Regions from separate parts of the Homo sapiens genome. Here region 2 is linked to region 1. Evidence: promoter capture Hi-C in 16 types of primary human blood cells and fetal thymus (Javierre and others, 2016). All regions are on one chromosome and are shown on one strand. Each heading gives the region's core, a stretch centred on a gene start or on the middle of the fragment in contact. The rest is flanking DNA. Distances are from core to core; before and after follow the strand shown.

The links. The method cuts DNA at HindIII sites, captures the fragments that hold promoters and counts their contacts. A CHiCAGO score of 5 or more calls a contact.
Region 2: a fragment that was not itself captured here is called in contact with the fragment with the promoter of DORIP1 in region 1 in 1 of 17 cell types (M0 macrophages); the score reaches 5.8 in M0 macrophages.

Annotation. Positions count from the first base shown.
Region 1 is chr14:44,892,160-44,898,657 of GRCh38, forward strand. DORIP1 (dopamine receptor interacting protein 1) reads left to right here and starts at 5,116. Exons shown (of 5, transcript NM_001017923.2): 1 at 5,116-5,409. RefSeq lists enhancers at 4,761-4,810, 5,435-5,934 and silencers at 5,301-5,430, 5,451-5,770. The HindIII fragment of the contact is 3,873 bases long and covers 4,775-6,498 here.
Region 2 is chr14:42,210,188-42,217,524 of GRCh38, forward strand. No RefSeq gene overlaps it. Among named protein-coding and RNA genes, the nearest start is that of LRFN5, 610 kb to the left of the region's middle. The HindIII fragment of the contact is 222 bases long and covers 3,977-4,198 here.

The DNA.
Region 1 (6,498 bases), core at 3,866-6,365:
ATGTTCTTTTATGACCTAGCCTCAGAAGCCACGGAGTTTCATTTTTGCTGTACTCTGTAGGTCAAAGGCTACTAGTCTACCCAGATTCAAGAAGAAGGAACAAAGACCCAATGTCTCAATGGAAACAATGTAAAAGAGTGTGCAGCCATTTTTTAAAACCATCCTAGCAGACTGCACTACAGAAAACGTTAAACCAAGTTTTTTCAAAGTGAAGTGAAGTGATAGCAGAGGGAAACTTAGATATATGCAAAGGAATAAAGAGCACCAGAAATACTAAACATGTCGGCAAATAAAAAGAACACTTTTAGTGAACTAAAGTCTGATTTTTCCCTTATTTGCTTACTTTACTTTCTGTGATCTGAGGGAGAAAAAGGACCCAGCCCATGTGGCTTCACATTGGGAAAAAGTGGCACCCACTGTTTCCTAAGATTTAGAGCTAGAAGGGGCTGGAAAGAGCTGATCCTGTCCCTGAATTTTTAGAACCAAATTCCTGTATCACAGTTGAAATGATTGTCAAAAGTAAGAACATAATGTTTGTTCACTGGGGGAAAAGTCTGTTGGGGATACCCAAAGGAATACGGGAATTTGAAGATGTGAATTCTATTTTTGGAAAGCTTAATGCAACAGAGTCTGATATAATGGCAAGTGACAGCTGCTTCTGGGGCTAAGTCCCCACGACTACCCCTTTCTTCTGGAAAATATATCTAGACTAAAGTTTATGACTAAATTTAGGGCCTATGTGTTCTGATTTTTCCCCAGATAATAAGGCTATGAGATCGACTGAATTGAATTGAGTTACAGAAATTAGATTTTCATGCCCTTCCTCATTGTTATTGTTGTTTATACAGCTTACATATTTTCTAGAGCAGGAACCTTCTTAACTTCAAGATCCTCAGGGACTCAAAGTTCATGATGGGAGCTCAGCAAATGTACTAGGATAGACAGATAAATGGTATTTGTGTACATCAAACTTGATCTAACGACCACTTTACCAAGAACATGAGACCCAACAGAAAAATAAGACTTTAAACCAATTTTTTAAAGGATAAGTTTCAAAAAAATGAAATAAAATGGGGTATATTTTAAATTTTAAGACTGGTAACAAAGATAGTATGAATTATTTTTTCATTTGGCCTGGCGCAGTGGCTCATCCCTGTAGTCCCAACACTTTGGGAGGACGAGTTGGGTAGATCGCTTGAGTCCAGGAGTTCAACACCAGCCTGGGCAATGGAGTGAATCCCCTTCTCTACAAAAAATATACAAAAAAAATTAGCCGGGCATGGTAGCATACACCTGTAGTCCCAGCTACTTGGAAGGCTGAGGTGGGAGGAGCCCTTGAGCCTGGGAGGATGAGGCTGCAGTGTGGTAGGCAACAGAGTGAGACTCTGTTTCAAAAAATAAATTAATAATAATAATAAACACTTTAAAATTATTTCTTAAATTCCCATATAGCAGTAAAAATGTACAGCAAGCACAGCACAAATGACAGGAGTAAAATAGATGTAACTTTATGCAACTGCAGAATCACTTGTTTTGTCAACCAGCATGGAAACTGTCAGAACTGTCAATCAACAAAGCAAGGGCGATAGAAAATGTGTCACTTTCAAACGGTATACAATAATAGAAATAATGACAACACATCATTATATCAGAGGGAGGAGAAAAGTGATATCAGGATATTTCTTTCTCAAGGCCTCTCATTGAGGGGTAATTATGGGCTGGTTGTGTCTGTCACATAGCCTCTCCAAACAGGCTCTGTAACTTTAAGTTCAGATATCAATGTCTTCCTCTCATCTTTTCAGATATTTTTACATCCCAGGATAATTACTGGATTATCTGTTGTGGTGGAGTCTGGACCTTTTTAAACATCTACCAACAAAGTTTATAGATTTAAAGCAAAAATTCAGCTTTTGGAAAAATGAGATTAAAAATAGTTTACTAGTAATGTAACTGAGCATTATAATTTGAATTCTAAAGAGGACTTATTGAGACTAGTAGAAGGCCGGGAGCAGTGGCTCACACCTGTAATCCCAGCACTTTGGGAGGCTGAGGCGGGTGAATCACCTGAGGTCAGGAATTCAAGACCAGCCTGGCCAACACAGTGAAACCCCGTCTCTACTTAAAATACAAAAATTAGCTGGGCACAGTGGCAGGTGCCTGTAATCCCAGCTACTCGGGAGGCTGAGGCAGGAGAATGGCGTGAACCTGGGAGGCGGAGCTTGCAGTGAGCCGAGATAGCGCCACTGCAGTCCGGCCTGGGCGAAAGAGCGAGAGTCTGTCTCAAAAAAAAAACAAAACAAAACAAAAAAAAACCCCAAAAATGTCCTATTTAAATTAACAATATTGGTCTCCAGTCTTTGCAACCAAAGAACACTTACTGATATCTCCACTGCTAGCATACTGTGTGACATATGGTTGATGATTGATAATAAATAAATAAAGTGTTTATAAAATGGTATTGGGCAACTAATTTTTTTGTTTTTGTTTTTTTGTTTAGATGGAGACTCGCTCTGTCGCCCAGGCTGGAGTGCAGTGGTGTGATCTCGGCTCACTGCAAGCTCCGCCCCCCTGGTTCACGCCATTCTCCTGCCTCAGCCTCCCAAGTAGCTGGGACTACAGGTACCCGCCACCATGCCCGGCTAATTTTTTATATTTTTAGTAGAGACGGGGTTTCACCATGTTAGCCAGGATGGTCTCGATCTCCTGATCTTGTGATCCGCCCGCCTCGGCCTCCCAAACTGCTGGGATTACAGGCGTGAGCTACTGCGCCCAAGCTGCGCAACTAATTTTTGACAAAAGCACAAAAGCAACCCAGTGGAAAAAGTACAGGCTTTTCAAAAAAAAAATTGCTGCGATGACTGGGTATCCATACATCAAATATGAACTTGGATACATGCCTCAAACTATATAAGAAAGTTAACTACAATGCATCATACATCTAAATGTACAGCTTGAACACATAAAACTTTTATAAGAAAACATAGGAAAATTTCTTTGTGAGCTTGGGGTAGGCAAAAATTTCTTAGAAACAACACTAGAAATGTAATCCATAAAATAATAAATAAATTAAACTTTATTAAAAGTTAAAACTTCTCTTCAAAATACACTGCTAAGAGAATGAGGGCCAGGTGTGGTGGCTCACGCCTGTAATCCCAGCACTTTGGGAGGCCGAGGTGGGCAGATCACCTGAGGCCAGGAGTTTGAGACCAGCCTGGCCAACATGGTGAAACTCTGCCTCTACTAAAAATACAAAAATTAGCTAGGCATGGTGGTGCACGTCTATAATCCCAGCTACTCGGAAAGCTGAGATACCAGAAACTCTTGATCCTGGGAGGCGGAAGTTGCAATAAGCCGAGATCATTCACTGCACTCCAGCCTGGGTAACAGATCAGGATTCTGAAAAAAAAAAAAAAAAAAAAAAAAAAAAAAGGCAGAGTTGGGGGGCGGTAGGTAAGCAGAAACTTAAGTGTGATGGGCATACTCATTTGATCACAGTGATGGTTTAAGGGGTTATACATATGTCAAAACTGATAAAAATTATACACTTTAAGTATGCTCTATATATTCTATGCCAATTATACTTCAGTAAATATATCTAAAAAAACCCTACAACTCAGATGTCAGATTTTGAAGACGGTGGAAAAGATGCAGAATGGAAATTTCAGTTAAAGGCCTCAGTGATGTTTGTGAGTTATCCAAGTATTCAAGGAATCCATGCTTCCTCCATCTAGCTGAGACTCGGCAGAGTTTAATGAGCAATCTCAATACTATTCTCCAGAAATGGTGTCATCCACCATACTATGGCTGTTTTCAGGAAGAGAATGACCTAATCAGTATAAAATGAACTCCATGTCTTGTGAGAGATTTATAATTAAACACATAATCCACATTTACAAACATTTTTAAAGGGCTTTTCTACCTGTAGGAGAGGATTAATATTGAGAGTGAACTTTTTGCAAGTTTTCCAACACACTAGTTTATCTCTAAGAGCCTCAGTTTCCTCATCTATAAAATACCATAAGAAATAAGAAAAAACAGGAAACTAAAAAGAGCAGGCTTTGCCAGAGCTATTAATTATTCTTTTTTGGGCAGAGCCAAAACTCAAGAAATGGAAGTCTCTCTTCCATTTCTAGACTTTTTTAGAGAGATCCATGAGGAAGTTCCCCTCCATAGCTTTGGCCGACCATCACACCGGTCAAGAAGGCATCCAGCCTCTCCCAGGCTCAGCCTGTGACGGAAAACCACACTGATTTACTAGGATAGCCTTGAGCTCTCTCATTAGCCCTCACGTGTTCTGAACGTTAGAGCTAACTTTCCAGACCCTCATTATTTGTTGAAAGGCTGGATGGGGAAAATCTCAACCAGATCTCCATGCCTACTTGCAAGGAGAGGTAGTTTTTGCAGGGTGGCCTGTGTTCTCCAGATGCAGAGCCATACAGGGCCTTGCTTCTTTACGGGAGATACAAAAACTCGGCCCTAATAAACAGAAATAGTGGTTGAGCCCACAAACTAGCATTAAGTTGTCCTAACTGTAATTTCCAGCTCCGTCACTTGCTGTGTGGGACCTTATTATCTCCAAAACCCAATTTTTTCAACTTCACAATGGAATTAAAACAATCTAATTTTTCAAAATGGGGTTAACTTCCACTGTAAGTTACAGTATATTGGCCAATAATTAACTTGAACACTAAAGCTGGCATTTAACAGATCAATTCAACTGTTTTCTAAGTAAATACTTAAACGCTTAAAAAACCGTAATTTACTGAGAAAACAAAGCTTTCTTTCTAGGTTAAGAATTTGAGAAAACAAGACCCAGAAGCAAACTAAAATCAAGTCCTAAAATGGTACAAACCTCAAAAAGCCAATCAGGTTTGCCAATAAAGCTCCGCCTCCGTGCAAACTCTGCCCACTTCCGGCTTCCCCACCCACCTTCTACCAGTGGAACCCCGCCCCTCTCTGCGAGGTCCCGCCCCCCACACCTGATCCTGGTTCCCATTGGGCGAATCTGGATGCTGTATACACAGCCGACACACGCACATTAGGCTGGGGCGTCTTCGCGCCTGCGCAGCTGCGCTGTCAGGCGGCTGAAAACGGGGGGGTTGGGGGGAGGGGGGCGGAGGTCGTGCCGAATCTTCCTCCGTAATAAGAAGCGACGTGTCCCACTGTCCTGGCTCCGTGGGTCCAGTGAGATTGGGCCTGGGCGCTGGAGCTGCTGTGGCTCCCGCCGCGGCGGCTGCCATGGAGGCCATGCCAGAGCCCAGAACTCACGCCGGGGGAGGCCGAGACAGCCGGCGGTACTCATAGATGAGGCAGCGGCGGCGGCGGCGGCGGCGGCAGCCCGGGCTCTCCATGAGCAGGCGGCGGCGGCGACGGGTGCGGCGGCACCGGCAGTTTTCGGTCCCCAGGGAGGTACGAGGAGTTTGCTTCCTGGTGGACGGAGACTGGCCGGTGTGGGAACGCCTTCCGCGGCCCGGCCCTCCAGCCTATTTGTCCGCAGTTCTGAGCACTCGGCGGGGCACTGCCCGGGCAGAGGCGGGGGCGCCCAGCCGACTCGCGGGCCCCTAACTCGGGGACCCGCCCGCCTCGGTGCCAGGCCTCCCGGGCGCGGCTGCCCAGGGCCAGGGTGGGCGTGGCCGGAACGTGGGGGCTCCCCGGGGGCGCACGCCTAGCGTCCGCCTTGTCCCTGTCCCGAAGTCCCGCGCTGCTGGGAGCGGTAGCGCGTGGCTGTACAGGCGTATTTTAGGCGCTGATTTGAGAGGGGACTTTTAGAATCCCTGAGTCCTTAGGGAGTCTGGCGTTCAATGCCTTGGGCATGTGGTGGGGTCCTCACGGCTAGCTTGGGGTACCAATTTCCTCCCTTGGAAGTCACCACGAAAGAAAGATGTTTTGTCAAAGAAATAGAGGTCAGGAGAGTTTTCCAGGTTTATTCAAATTGGAGGGCCCGTAGAGCCTGGAGAATAAAGCCAGCGGAATACATCCTCCAGTCCTTCTAATTACAGTTCCTAGCTAAACAGCTAAGACAATTTTAAGTAAAGCTCTTCACAGCTATCTTTCCATCATTTTTCCCCACCCCTCATTTTTATTGCAATTTACTTTGGAACAAATCACCAAATTCATGATGAAACTAGTATCCTCTAGTTCTTCCAAACCTTCCCTCCTCCCGTTTTTTCCAGAGAAAGACTAAAGTTTCATGCCACATATGTCATTATAGTTTAATTCTCTTAGAGTGTAAGGGTAGTTACACTTCATTTGGTCATGTCTGAAGATAATGTGAAGAAAATATCCTAGAGATTTATGCTTCCTTCCCAATGCACTATTTTAGGAATCCGAACTCAGGCTCTTTAAGCAATCTTAAACCTTGCTACAAAGTTCTTTAAAATTCAACGGAAATAAATCAAACCATAAAGTTATTTTCGTTTTTAAAGTATTTGAATGCATAACTGTTTTTTAAAATCTTTGTAAACAAAACGAATCAGTATCTATTACGAAGAAACTGAG
Region 2 (7,337 bases), core at 2,838-5,337, 2.7 Mb before region 1:
AGTGCTGGAATTATAGGCATGAGCCACAGAGCCCGGCCCAGATAATTTTATAATCCAAACTCTGGGTAAAGTTTTTCTAAAAATTTCTATAATGACTGTCACATATTTACACCATGATCTTTAGAAAGTAGAGAATAGATGCATACATTCATTTAAAATTTTAAGTTGTATTTTATTAATTATTATGAATGCATATAGTTTTACATATTTATGGGATACATGTGATGCTTTGATACAGGCTTAGGGTCTGTAATGTCAAATCAGGGTAATTGGGGTATACATCACCTTGAGCATTTATTATTTCCATGTGTTAGGGACATTCCAATTCCATCCTTTTAGTTGTTCTAAAATATACAATGAATTATTGTTAACTGTAGTCACCTAATTGTGCTACTGAGCACAAGATCTTATTCATTCTAACTGTATGTTTGTACATTATGTACCTTTGTACAAACTGTATGTATATTATCCATTTCCATTTTATCCCCTACTCTCTGCTACCCTTTCCAGCCTCTGGTAACCATCATTTAATTCTTTATTTTCATAAGATCATATTTAAAAACAATTAGCTTCCACATATAAGTGAGAATATGTGAAATTTGTTCTCCTGTGACTGGCTTGTTACGCTTAATATAATGCCCTACAGTCCATCTATGTTGTTGCAAATGACAGGATTTCATTCTTTTTCATGGTTGAATAATATTCTATTTATTTTAAATTAGAGGTGAGTAAACATGATTTTGAGCATTATTCACTTAACCCTAATGTTTGCTATCAAAGCAATTACAGGTACCTATCCTTTACTGAAAGTGATGTTATTTCTGTAAACGTCTTGTGACAAAAATATCCTCTTAATTATACTTCTGTTTTCTTCACTTGTGATATATTTTTCCAGCATAGTCACTCTTTCTGGGTAGTGGAAACAGCAGCAAGGAAAAGTGCATGACTAGAGAATATACTTTTGTAAATATGCAAACTACATGAAACGCTTGTTTTTTGTCACATTTTATTTTGACCAAAGAAGTTCCATCAAACTAGAATTGGCTCTAGTTTAATATTGGCCATTTCCGAAATATAAAATCAATATTCAATAGTACAGACTTGCTGCTATTGATGAAATCCTACATTTTATTTTGTTTTATTCATATTTCTATTCACATGGCATTTTAGGGTTTTGGTAAAATCCACTTACTGAGTTCATCCACATATTTTCCAGTATACTGCACTAATGTCATGTTCTCCATAGAACTTCTCCTTTTTACAAGATGAAAATCATTTCACCCTGTGTCTCCTTCTGAGGCCTTTTTTTTTTTTTTTTTACCTTTAATGGCACTTATTGTATCTATCTTGTATGACTGGACATATGTCTGTCTTTTCTCAGAGACAGTGAGAACTTTAGGGCAATGGAACATGTATTAGTAATTGTTTCATTCTTCCTAGTGCTAAGTATGGTTTGCCCTCATGTCATTCAGTTCTTTTCTGAAAGGCCACTTAAGGAGTCAATCTCCACTCAATTAACAGAATTAATTTCTTTAGATAATACTTAATTACTTATGTATATATTTTGCATCTGTATTTTCTTCCTCATCTATTTATGTCCATGAGAGCAAGTGCATTTTTTATTTTGCTTACAATCATATTTCCAACACTCATGCCTGGGAACAGAATAAGTGCTCAAAAAAAAAAAAAAAAATACATGCACACACACACACACACATATATATATATATATAAACATATATGTATATATTTCAAAAATACTCACCTAATGTGGAAAATATCTCTATGTGCAATGAATGTGTTCATTGTAAATTATTTATATCATTATACTACATAATTCTTAGAAGGAATGCTACTTGTAGAATCATTAATTGCAGAAATTATCTGTCCTATTCTTCTGAGTTCAGTTAGGTAATATGTCATTCTTTAACCTTTATAGATAACTAAGAATCACATACCCAGTGATTAAAAATAGGTAGGCTTATATGGGAGGGTAACTAGTACCTAGTGATTAAAAATAGATAGGCTTATATGGGAGGGTAACTAGTATCTAAGTTGCTTAACTCCAGTGGACAATGCATAATCCCATTATTTTTATTTCAACATAATAAACTACATATACTAGAAATCTTAAAAATCATTTCTAGCATATTTCTGTCTTCAGTAGCTCACACTCTTTTATTTAAGAAATACTTTTAGTAGATTACTTGAAAATTGACTGTGTACCATCAGAAAGTTTTTCACCAATATTGAACTTCCCATAATAAGTGCTACAGTAGAGGAACATAAATCAGATTTAGTAATAACCTTCTTGGGTTTGGCTTTTCTGGTAAATATTACAGAATTTTTCTGTGTTCTATTAACATTTTCTCTACAGTAAATATGCACCAAAAGTACTTTTTGTGTTTTTTATATTTTCTTATTTTGTATCTGTATTTGCATTTTGTATTCTTACAGTGGCAGAAAATTACAGAACAAAATAAGATATTTTTAATTTATTTTTTTCAAAAAGCAATCATTTTCTTGGAAATAATTTATGGAACTAGATTGTTAGTGCTTTTCTCCCCAGTTCTGTGTATAAACAAAGTCAAATATTTCCACAGCTCGTGAAGATCTGGGGAAAGTTTTATTCAGAAAGGTAAAATTTGAAGTCTAACATTTTATCAAGTTTAGAACTCTCACTGGTAAAAGCAGTAGTGCAAAAATAAATATAAAGCAAAAACAAGAAATAAGAACGTGGTTATTTCCCAACTCGAACAATCTTTTTTTCTCAAGGAAGAGCCTTGGATGATTTCTGCCTGTCTTGGAAAGTAAACATTTATGTGACAGAGGAACTGGCAAATACTTTTAACTTATATCATCAAAAATTAAAATTGTAGCATGTCAATGATTCCTGCTGTGGATAAATGTTGATTTTAATATATGACAAAGTTAAAACTACAACTACATTTGGCGGAAAACAGGAAGAGTATAGCTTTATATTTGGAGCTTTGTCCTATAGACCTCTATTTCTAGAGTCTGTTGATTATCAAGGGTCCAGAGAACAAAATCAAACATGGTTCAATATGTAATATTATGATGTATACATTTTATATTCTAAAGAGAGACATCAGGAAATGTATGTAATAAATTATCAGTTACCAATGTCTTTTGAGTTTGATGTTAGCTGCCTGCTTTCCTAAGTGTGAATGAAATTCAATTTCTCTAAAAAAACTCAAAGTGCATCAAATAGTATCAATTAAAATAAGCGTTCAGAAGAATTAAATTTCTTAATGCTTATGAACAGAGTCAGAAAAATATACTATGGAAGCCGAAGCTGATGGCTATTAAGTTATATATGTGTTTCTATAACAATTGTAGACAATTGTAAGTTAAAAGCCGCCTATAGGCAGTGGTTTAGAGAAATGGAGAAATGACTATTTAAAAATAATATACACTATAAGTAATAATGGTGAATTCAATTTCATTTTTGAAAAATATCTTTAGTTTTTGAAATCACTGTAAATACAATCAAAATATGCTTTTCATACATAGTAACTTCATCTTTTATCTCTTTTTGAGTCATAGATCTCATACCTTCTACCTACAAAAGGAACAGATTCATATGATATTAAAACCTACACCTTTACTACAACTTTTCTGTATGTGCCTCATTGACCTTCCATGTATTGTAAGTGTAATTTCACTTTAAAGCATTCTTAACGCTTTCCTACTCACATAACTAATGCCTTTTCCTTCTCTCATTATTTTCCATTGCTATTTAATTTTACTGCTGTATTATTTTTATATTCCTCTGAAATGAAATTTAGAATGAAAAACTTCTCAGGATCACAATACTGTGATAACTAAGCAGATACTCTCTGTCATGTGTATTATTATTGTAGTATTTATGCATGATATAGGTGATGAAAAGCTGTTAGTGAATTTTATGCTCATTTTCCCTGTAATATGATGTTGATTCCTAATCACTTTTTGAAGCTTCTTTGCAGTTTTTTAAATTCTATTGCTGTTGAATAATATAAACTTGGAAATATTAAAAAAATCATAATTTTGTAAGACTAGATATGGTGCATATTTTTCAGATGTAAAAATAATACTGATATTTAACAGTATGTGCCACTTGAATTGTAAATATCTTACATAAATATATAACTGCCCACTTAAGTGAAAACCTAGCTTTGACCGAGGCACCCGGAGAAGCTTCTTTTCCTTCTTCCATACCAAATCCATCAAGGTGACCCATTCAAAATAATTGCTGACACTAGGAATGACTCTCCCTATTCTCAGCTTTTCCTTTTCCTTTTCTTTTTCTGATACAACAGTGGCCACTGCTGCTTGCTGAAGCCAGTAGTTAGTTGGGGAGTCTGCTGCTCCTCATTCTTCCACCTTCCCCACCCAAAAATAAGTTCTGGACACTTTAATTGCTGTGCAATTAAAGCATTGGATAATGGTGATGTTTCTGAAAAAAGACGTGGAGTTGATACTACCCCTTTTTAAAACATCAAATTTAAATTGTGGTCCCAATAGACAGGTATGTGTCATATAAAAGGATCATAAAGTTTAATGGTAATATTTAAATAACAAAAGTTTACAATGTTTTAATTTTGAAATATGTACAAATGTGAGGGACTCAAGAAAATTTCTAATTTAGTACCTCACTCGTTTGTTTTCCAATATGCTTTTTGAGTGGGTGGAGTTACAGTTAGTATGCTATGAATAGAATATACCTCTTCAGTAATCTAAGTTTTGTGCAATGAGCATGAATATTTCTAATGGTAATAACTGTGTTGTTTTGTCCTGAAGCATTCTTTCTTTTGGAAAACACCTACCTCCTCTCACCATTCTTATCCCATGATAATCTTGGACCTTGTGGTTTTGTTAAAGCTGATTCCATATCCCTGTCATTGAAATAACACACTCCTGGTCCTGTGACTAACCACATGGCACATGACCTAAGCCTTAGTTGTCAGGATGCCCTACCCCTTGCCACAGTGATAATTTCCAGGGCAAGTAGGGAAACCTAGTTGAATCTATTAGTCTTTTCAAAAACCTTTTACACAGCCAAAAAAAAAGTCCTTTTTAAGAGGTCAGCTGGAAAATGTGCTTTACAGAAAAGAAGGTGGAGCTCTGAAATAGAAAGGTCAAGTGACCCCAAGTCCTAAGTTCTTTTTTAGCTCATGTTTTCTTTTTGTTCCTCTTGCCTGGGCATGGAAGTAGTGGCCTACTGCAGTTGCTATTTTTGGGTTGTTTCCCTGACAACTGTTTGTTTCCTCAGGCTCTTCCATCATCTGAGTAACCTAGTCTCTGTTTTAAACACCCAAATGTTTGTCTTTTTTTCCTCCTGTTTTTGTCTTTGTATATTGATGGATAAATTTTCAGATACTATTTTGTTTGTTTTGTTTTAGCAAGAGTTCTTTATTTTCTTCAAAGGCTTACAAAGAAGCTTAATAAAACAGATAAAAGTAGAGCTATGAGTAGAAGTCTTTGGTGACAAAATGTTATACAACCTAACTGACTTAAGTTGTCTAGCTAGATAGCTTCTAAAATCCTGAGAACACTACTTAATAAAATTTAAAATTTACTGCTATATTCTTTTCAGTTGAGAATAGCTACATATACTATTAGTATATAGGTGTCATAGAATTAAAAATAGGAAAAAACTCAGAAATGTTATTTATTTTTTTTATTTTTTTATTTTTTTGAGACAGAGTCTTGCTCTGTCGCCCAGGCTGGAGTGCAGTGGGACGATCTCGGCTCACTGCAAACTCCACCCCACGGGTTCATGCCATTCTCCTGTCTCAACCTCCTGAGAAGCTGGGACTACAGGCGCCCTCCACAGCGCCCAGCTAATTTTTTTTTTTTTGTATTTTTAGTAGAGACGGGGTTTCACTGTGTTAGCCAGGATGGTCTCAATCTGCTGACCTCGTGATCCGCCCACCTCGGCCTCCCAAAGTGCTGGGATTACAGGTGTGAGCCACTGCATCCGGCCTATATAATGTTATTTTTAACATTTTATTTTTTTTTATTATTATGGGTACATACCAGGTGTATAGACTCATGGGGTACATGTGATCTTTTGATACATACATATAATGTATAATAATAACATTAGGGTAATTGGAGTACCCATCACCTCAAGCATGTATGATTTCTTTTTGTTAAATACATTCCAATTCCACTCTTATAATTATTTTTAAATATACAATAGATTATTCTTGACAATAGTCACCTTCCTGTGCTATCAAATATTATATCTCATTTGTGAAATATAATATTCTCAATGTATTTCATCATATGGGGAATGATGAGGTCTCTGTTTCATTCTGATAAATATAGTTGAAAACACTTCTACCTTCATTTATATCTGCTAATAACTTAGTTTTGCTTAACCTTAACTTTATCATTGGATTACAGATCTTTTCTACATACTATCATTTACTGGGGACTTTACCTTTTCGGTGTCCTACTGCCATTATAAGACTTTTCAATTTTTAAGATTATGGAAAATTCTTCTACCTCATTCATACAACCATATGTGTTAAAATTACCTTCCAAAGTCTGATCCTGCTTTACTTCTGCTGTATACCGCTCTCTCTTTTCTTCTCTTTCTCACACACACAAACACACTCACACAAAGTTCAGAACTGTGCTTGAATAAGCCATAAAATCTTTAGACAGGGCGCGGTAGCTCATGTCTGTAATCCCACTACTCTGGGAGGCTGAGGTGGGCAGATCACAAGGTCAGGAGTTCACGACCAGCCTGGCCAATGTGGTGAAACACCTTCTCTACTAAAAATACAAAAATTAGCCGAGCATGGTGGTGGGCGCCTGTGGTCCCAGCTACCCAGGAGGCTAAGACAGGAGAATCACTTGAACCTGGGTGGCAGAGGTTGCAGTGAGCCAAGATGATGCCACTGTGCTCCAGCCTGGGCAACAGAGCAAGACTCCGTCTCAAAAATAAATAAATAAATAAATAAATAGATAGATAAATAAAATAAAATCTTTAGACAATTCAATTTCATCCTTCTTCTCCTGAACTCTGATCAACTAATTTTGACCATCATAGACACTGACCTCCAAGGATCAAATCCTCATCTCTATAATCCTCACTAAATTATTAATGTGGTATTTTAAAAGAGAATTTTATCAGAGAAAGTAAACTGTGATATGGCTAGATTGAATGAAGTAATGTATGTATAAGAGAATATTGATTGAGCATGAAATGCTGAAACAATTGCACAGAATTAAGAGATAACCCCAAGCAACTATTTCACAACTCTGCAATGTCAGCCGTCCTTTCTAGACCAGACTTGCCAGGGGGCAGCCCCTGTCTCTTC